Linked DNA regions of Homo sapiens: region 2 is linked to region 1. The links are contacts of gene promoters, found by promoter capture Hi-C in blood cells and fetal thymus (Javierre and others, 2016). All regions are on one chromosome and are shown on one strand. Each heading gives the region's core, a stretch centred on a gene start or on the middle of the fragment in contact. The rest is flanking DNA. Distances are from core to core; before and after follow the strand shown.

Region 1 (4,098 bases), core at 823-3,322:
CACAGGTTGGCAGAAAAATATTTGCAAAATACGTATTTGAAAATTCTTGTATCTAGAATATATGAGCTCTTACAATCAATAAAAGACAAACAACAAAATTTTAAAAAATAGGCAAAATATCTAAACAGACAGTTCACCGAAGAAGATAAACAAATGGCAAATATACATAAAAAGATGCCCAACATCTTTGGTCATTAGGGAAATATAAATTAAAATTGTAATGAGATACCTATGTTGACACAAAGACCTGTTCACAAATGTTCATAACAGCTTTATTTATAATAGTCCCAAACTGGAAATAACTCAAGTGTTTATCAACTGATGAGTAGAGAAGCAAACTGTGGGATAGCCATATGATGAAATACTACTCAATAATAAAAGGGAACCAATTAATGATATACACTACAGCACAGATGAATTACAAAAGCATTATGTTGAGTGAAAGAAGCAGATACAAGAGACATATAGAAGAAATTGGGAAGGTTTAAAAAAAATTTTTAAAAGCAGTGACTATTTGAGTATCACAAGTAAAGTTTTTTTTTGTTTTGTTTTGTTTTTGAGACGGCATCTCGCTCTGTCCCCCAGGCTGGAGTGCAGTGGCATGATCTCAGCTCACTGCAAGCTCCGCCTCCCGGGTTCACGCCATTCTCCTGCCTCAGCCTCCCGAGTAGCTGGGACTACAGGCGCCCGCCACTAAGCCCGGCTAATTTTTTGTATTTGTAGTAGAGACGGGGTTTCACCACGTTAGCCAGGATGTTCTCGATCTCCTGACCTCGTGATCCGCCCGCCTCGGCCTCCCAAAGTGCTGGGATTACAGGCGTGAGCCACCGCGCCCGGCATAAGTAAAGAATTATAAGCTATGGTACATAATGATCCTCTCCTCAAAGAGCCTACATAAGTAAGACACAAAATAAGTAAAACACAAACAGGCTTGTCCTGAAAGAGCCTGCATGGGTATTAACCAATGCAATGGTAATTACCTAGAGATTTTTCTTAGAAGTGAAATTTTTACAGCTCTCCCTCAAATTCAGTTTTGTCTGTGTGCTCATGGAAAGTCTGAGTGCATCAATAGTTGATTTTACAATCGAAATGTAGAATATTTTCATCACTCTCAGTGGTTTCTGTAGTCCCAGCACAGAGTGAGTGGGGACATCAGTGCTCCATGTCCTCAAACCATATATCCAGCTGGAAGGGTGTATAGCGCAGTGTGGAAAGTGGGAATGGATTCCACAGCCGTCCATAGGTCCCACAGGGATGATAAAAAGTAAAAAGTACAAATTCTTTGTACATTCTGGATATTAACCCATTTTCATATATATATGATTTGCAAATATTTTCTTCCATTCTGGGAGTTGCTTTTTCACTCTGTTGATGTATTTTTTGATGCACAAACGTTTTTAATTTTGATGTATTCCAATTTATATCTTTTGGTTGTCTGTGTGTTTTTCTTTTTTTGCCCATGCTTTTGGTATCATACTCAAGAAATCATTGCCAAATCCAAAATCCAAGGTCATGAATTTTTGTCCTATTCTTCTGAGTTTTATGTTATAGTTTCAGATTTTTTGAACCATTGTGAGTTAATTTTATAGTTTTAGCTCTTAGATTTAGATCTTTGAACTTTTTTGAGTTAATTTTTGCATATGGTATGAGGTAAGCCTCCAACTTCTTTTGCATGTGGATATCTAGTTTTCCTAGCGCTGGGTAAAGGTGGAACTCCTCTGCAAGGGAGGTGAGGAAGGAGGGGAACAGAGAAAGGTGTAGATAATGACCAGTTTACTTTTGTTGAAACCTAGTTACTTCTTAAGCAAAGATTGTTTAAGTGGATGTTTTCAAAGCTGCTTGTTACTGTTTCAAAGGTCAAATAGATAATGATTAAGTTGCGCATCACTTAAGGTAGATTTTGACCTCTCACAAGTTGAAGAGTACTGAAGATCTAAGATCATTTACATCCCTCTGGAAGAAAAAATAACATAGCCTTCTAGGGCAAAGAAGAAAAAACTCAACAGTTACAGGATATTCCATGGTTCAAAGTACACCTGCCTGGTTTGCTGTTCTCCAAAATCCCATGCTCAGTTGGTTGGAGTGGCCTCACTCTTACCTGCCAACCTGGGAGGTTGATGATGAACATGTCTTTACCTTTTCTTTGGAGTTTGCTTACCTTATTAATATTTGCTGAAGTAAATGGCGAAGCTGGAGAACTTGAGCTGCAGAGACAAAAAAGAAGCATCAATCTCCAACAGTAAGTAAACACATGGGTCATTCCTGCTCAGGGACTAGGCTAATTCCTCACCAGTTTTCCCAAATAGCCAGATAAACAAAGGTGCAATTTTTCTTGAGGAAAATTATGTTGAGAAGCAAACAGGGAAAAACATTTAGACTGAGGTATGAAATTACTTTCCTATGCACAAATTATTATCTGTCATTTTGCAAATAATCTGTTTGCAATTGCCAGGAGGTATCTCTGAGAAATGTGCAGAGAAAAAAGTGGCAGATGAGCAGGGGCAGTTGGGTTGAGATGATCAAAAAGTGAAGATGTATTTGGCCTGTAGTTATTCAGTAAGAAACTTTGTTATTTTGGTTTAAAAATTGTACTTGCTAATTACTGATGCATTCTCTCGTTTGAATTATATAGGCCTCGAATGGCTACAGAGAGAGGAAATTTGGTGTTTCTTACGGGGTCTGCTCAAAACATTGAGTTTAGAACCGGATCCCTGGGAAAAATTAAATTAAATGATGAAGATCTCAGTGAGTGTTTACATCAGGTAATACACTGGAAATATATTGAAGTCATTTTGTATATCCATATACGGTGACTTAATTGAACAAGTCTAGATTAATCTGTACCTTGAATCTTTTTTAATTATTATTTTTTATTAATACATAATTTGATACATTCCTATAATGTGTAAAGTTCAAATCAGGGTAATTGGGATATCCATCACCTTAAATATTTACCTTTTCTTCATGCTAAGAACATATGAATTGTTCTCTTCTAGTTATTTTGAAATGTACAATAGATTAATGTTAACTATAGTCACCCTACTGGTCTATCAAACACTAGGTCTTATTTCTTCTATCTAACTATATATTGTATTCATTAATCAACCTGTCTTCAGCCTCCCTCCCCCTTCCTAGTGTACCTTGAATCTTTAGCATAGAGAACATAATTGGGCATCAGACATGTTCTTGTAAAGGACGATGGCCTGGGGTTAATAGTGGGTAGAGGGAGTATGCTAAAAGATAGAAGCTCATTGTGCCAGACAATGCACCCTAGTCCAGAGAAGGCACGGAGGGTGGAACTGAAACTCCTCCACAGGGGATGCGAGGAAGTAGGGGACCAAGGATATGTGGACATGTGACCAGTTTGCTTTTGCCACAGAACAGAATTGGCCAGTTATTCTCCTGCCTTACTGGGTGTTTTCATTTCCCAATAATCACTGCATATTTCAGTCATAATGTTAGAAGTCAGCATTATTCAGAGCTTACTGTGGGCCATCCACTGTGCTTAGCACCGTATGGATGTTATCTCATTTGACCTTCACAGCTGTCCTATGAGGTGGCCTTTATTGTCACCCTAGTTTTACAAGAGGTAAAGAAACCCTGAAGCAGTTAGGTAACTTGCCCAGGACAGCAATAAATAGCTGAGCCAGGACTTAAAACCTAAACAGTCTGCTTCCAAGCCAGGTTTCTTAATAAGCACCCTAAACTGGTATTATAGGAAAACATACAAATGGAAAATACCTTGATCTATTGTTACTGAAAAGGATAAGTGGAATTATGCTGTGGCTATTTTAGCCCAGTGTTTATTACGCATGGTGTTGTTTTGGTTTTTATAATAATAGGCAAGATCTTAGTGCTTAAAGTAGAATACTACTCAAGTTTTTAATTATGTTACTGTAAAGATAAATATGATATTTTCACTAGTGCTCTTCATTTCTTCTTCTTTTTCTAAAATTAGATCCAGAAAAACAAAGAAGATATTATAGAGTTAAAAGGGAGTGCAATTGGTCTGCCTCAAAATATATCTAGTCAAATCTATCAGCTTAATTCCAAGGTAAGTCTGACATCTACGTCATAAGAACCGATGAGTTCTCCCTA
Region 2 (4,098 bases), core at 496-2,995, 90 kb after region 1:
GACTAACTAGAGGGAGAACGGAGCCTTTATTGTGAATTTCATGCAGACTTTTGAATGTTCAACAAAGCCATGTTGTTACTGGTTTTTAGCATTCCCATAGGATTTTGGGTTTTTAAACTGTTGAATTTAAAAGTCAGAATTTCTGTCCCTTCCACGTGTTAACATTAAAAAAACAGCAGCACAGAACGTCGAATGCGCTTCTCTAACAAACAAATCAGACTGATCCCTGAATATAACCAAGTTATTCTGCTCTCCACAAATTCAAGGGAATTTGATGCCTATTTTAACATGACTATTTAATTTTCATGACTCTTTAGTTTGAATTCACTTCAGTATTATTTCACATTTCTTCTAAATGGAAATCCTTTCACTATGAAAATACTGCACCAAATATATATGTGTGTGTGTCTCTGTGTGTGTATATATACACACACATATATACACATCATATATGTGTGTGTGTACATACACAGATGATTTTTATTTATTTTTTTTAAAGGAAAATCTCATCTTGGAGCACTTATGAAGTATATAATAGTGGTTCTTAACAGTCATTTCTTTTTCCAGCATGTGAGAATGTGGTAATAGTCAATCAAACCTATGGCATCTTAGAGAGTATAGGGTATCCGAATCCTTATTCTGAAAATCAGCATTGCAACTGGACCATCCGGGCAACAACAGGCAACACTGTGAACTACACATTTTTAGCATTTGACTTGGAACATCACATAAACTGCTCCACAGATTATTTAGAGGTATGTATTATAAAGCTTGATTGATCACTGCTTTTTCAGATCAAGGGAGATGTGTCAAGTTAGAATCCATCATGCTTTTTAGAATAAAATCCCTAACTCTGCCCCACGCATCTATAACACACCAACCACCCATGGTATTTGAACAGGTATATTTCATATTTAATGTATTAAATTGTGAATACAGAGAACTATCTATGTTTTTAGGTTTCAGTGTAACTTCTGGACTCATTGACCTCATATTACTTAACTTACATGGAAGGAGAGTAATAACCTCTATTTTTTGTTGGTTGTTTTTATGTTTGTTCTCTGTGTATAAGAGATCAGAAAATGTTTGGGTATCTTGGATTTATTTAAGATGTCATTTTTCTAGTATGAGGTATCATGGTTTTAATTGTTGTTTTTATTTTTAAATGTAAGTTCATTTCAGTATATTTTTATTTTTGTAAAATTGAAGTTTCAATTGTTATAATCATGACCACTAGTAACATTTATTCAACTGTCTGTATGCAATTTCAGGCAATAAATCTTGCTTAAATATTAGGCAACCTTGAATATAAGGTAATATGTTATTTTTGCAATAAGAAATTTTAACTTAAAAAGCTTTTTGATAACTTGCATATGTAACTTTTAGGGCTACAAATTGGGAGGTTATTTTGGCATCTACGTTTCATCATCAGTAAAATAACTTTTTGAGTCATCTAAGGCATTATCTTTATTTCTGTCTATATTGTTAATATATAATACTTCAAAAAATCCACATATAATGTTTTCACTAGATACCCTTTCTGAAGTGATAAGTACTTGCTCTGATAACAGGACATTTTTTTTCCCACCTGCCCTCCTACCTGCAGCCTAGTGACTTAAGGTAGTTGTTTTTAAGGTGGTCAGTGATTTTTAGAAGTCTTACTTACAAAGACTTCAACATCCATTGCTGGCAACTCTGGGGTCATATTCCCAGGAAAAAATATGTTATTCTTGTAAAATGTTCTTAATTGTGTTTTTACAAGTTGTATAGGAAAACTAGCATTGGTTGAGGTTGGTTGAGGTTAACATATATTTTCCAAATAGCACTTTTGTTTATGAAAACAAAGAGTGACAACAAAGCATTCTGCACTTTGAGAGACTCTGTGAGGTCCTAACTATAAGGAGATTCCCTTGTTTTTCAGAGATAATTTTTTGGGAAAAAATTTTGCCTTATATTTACAAAAGTACAATATTACAGAAATATTAGCCATAGTGTTTACCCATTAGAAAGTTTTGTTTACCAGTATTCTAAGAAAATATGACACAACATGAAACAAACTTACAAGCACGTACTTGGCAATGGTTTTAAAGTCCACCTTCCTTGACCTGGAGTTCAACTGGTCTTCACAAGCTTAATGATACCAGGATGGTATCATTAAGATACTACTAGAATAGGCATCCATTTCTTCACATGGTGAGACCTTGTTTGTGTTTTAGAAAAAGCAGAAAAGTTGCTTTCAAAGCCCTTTGTTTATACCGTGAACACAGCAGTTGGTCATACCTCCTTTTACCAGTTAGGACTATTCTGATTCCCACTGGACTGTGGGCTTCTCGAAGGTCTGTGCTGTCTCCTACTAACTTTGTAACCCAGGCACTTATTATACAGGTGGGACATTACAGGAGTTCAGTAAGTTCAAGTTGAATTGAATATCACAGCCATATTTTAGTATCAGTCTAATGATAACTACTAATGAATGAGAAAGATTGAATTCCAAACTGGCGTTTTTGTACGACCTCCTACACACGCAGTGCAATCCTACAAATTGGAGCACAAACCAAAATAGGACTCATGATCTTGCCGAGCGTTGCACGTATAACAGTGTGCTGGGCACCATAATCGTGATTTGGTAAAGCGTAATGGAGAAAGCCACAGAAAGGAGGATGCTTTTGAATTGGGCTTTAAAGGAGGCTTTGGCAGAAAGAGGGGGGAGGAAAGAGATGAAACATTTCCAGGACCTGAACTCCATTTCTTTCGACTCATTTGAGGATGAAATGGCAACAAAAAGGTGTTTAAAAACTCAAATTAAAAAATGCTTGTTCCAGCAACTGCAGAGTAGCTCATTAGAGCCCCTTATGGATGACGTGTCTGTCATGTTATGGTCATGCCATTTCTCTTGTGCAACATTGACGGTGAAAGAGCAAAAATACAAAATGAGAACCAGAAGTTCAGAAAGGCCTTCCAAAAAAACGGCGCTGTTGCCAGAGGGAGGAGATTGTTTTCCATCTCTGTGAGCCAAGAGGCCAGACCAGAGCAATAGCTGCAATAGCTGGTCTATGATGGAAATTTTAACACACAAACAACCATTTACAGAGAGAAAACTCACACACACAGAAATCTAGCTTCCATTATTTTAATCGCTTCTGGGTTTTTTCAGCTGACTTCCCCAAATCCCAACTGGATGCCTGTTACTAGAGCCAGAATTTAGTTATTCTGAATTAATAAAATGGAAACTACAAAAAGACTTAATTACGTGCTGGTCAGACACTATCCCGCCTTGATGAGAGGAATGGGTTTGAAAAGATCCCATTGGAAACCAAATGCATCCTTTATTATTTCACCCTCTGGGCAAAACAAAATATTTCAGATCTGGAAATAAAATATACAGTGGGAGAAGGGACCATTTGCTTAAAGGAGTGAGACCATTTGCCCGTGCAAACATGGGGAATCAACCTGAAGAGTTCTGGCTGTATTTTACAACTTGATTTCAGTCTTCCATTTTTATTTTGAGTCTGAGTCTCCATGCAGAAAAGGAGATTTCAAACGAGTGATTGAATATAGAAATGGAAATGATAGATTTGGGAGAAATCAACATGGAGATGTATAGGAAGCCCAGGGTATTTGTTAAGTCAACAGGGAGCATGTGTGTAGTGAGAAGAGGAAGTAGGAACACTAAGAGGTGATTGTGGCTGGGCACGGTGGCTCAGGCCTATAATCTCAGCTACTCAGGAGGCTGAGGCAGGAGAATCACTAGAACCCGGGAGGCGGAGTTTGCAGTGAGCTGGGATCGCACCATTGCATTCCAGCCTGGGTGACGAAGTGAGACCCTGTCTAAAAAAAAAAAAAAAGGTGACTGTGTCATGGGAGCCAAGGGAAGAGCAGTCGAGAGAGGTTGTGGTTCAGAAGGGTCCCTTGGAGATCAATGTGACTCTGGTCAGAGCAGTGTTTGTGGGGCGAGAGCAGGAACCAGACAGTGTAAAGAGGTACAAAGAGGAGAGTGAGTGTAGACTGAAGTCTAGGTCCCTGAATTCTGAGGCTCTCTGTAACAAACCAGAGTAAGTGATGGCTTCTTTTCTCCAATCCTTATCCTTCATTTCCCTA

The links. The method cuts DNA at HindIII sites, captures the fragments that hold promoters and counts their contacts. A CHiCAGO score of 5 or more calls a contact.
Region 2: a fragment that was not itself captured here is called in contact with the fragment with the promoter of CUBN in region 1 in 1 of 17 cell types (M0 macrophages); the score reaches 5.4 in M0 macrophages.

What each region holds. Positions count from the first base shown.
Region 1 is chr10:17,127,785-17,131,882 of GRCh38, reverse strand. It overlaps CUBN (cubilin), which reads left to right and starts at 2,072. Exons shown (of 67, transcript NM_001081.4): 1 at 2,072-2,239; 2 at 2,633-2,762; 3 at 3,959-4,054. The coding sequence starts at 2,118. The HindIII fragment of the contact is 5,551 bases long and covers 1-4,098 here.
Region 2 is chr10:17,037,690-17,041,787 of GRCh38, reverse strand. It overlaps CUBN (cubilin), which reads left to right. Exons shown (of 67, transcript NM_001081.4): 27 at 568-755. Among named protein-coding and RNA genes, the nearest start is that of CUBN, 90 kb to the left of the region's middle. The HindIII fragment of the contact is 775 bases long and covers 1,358-2,132 here.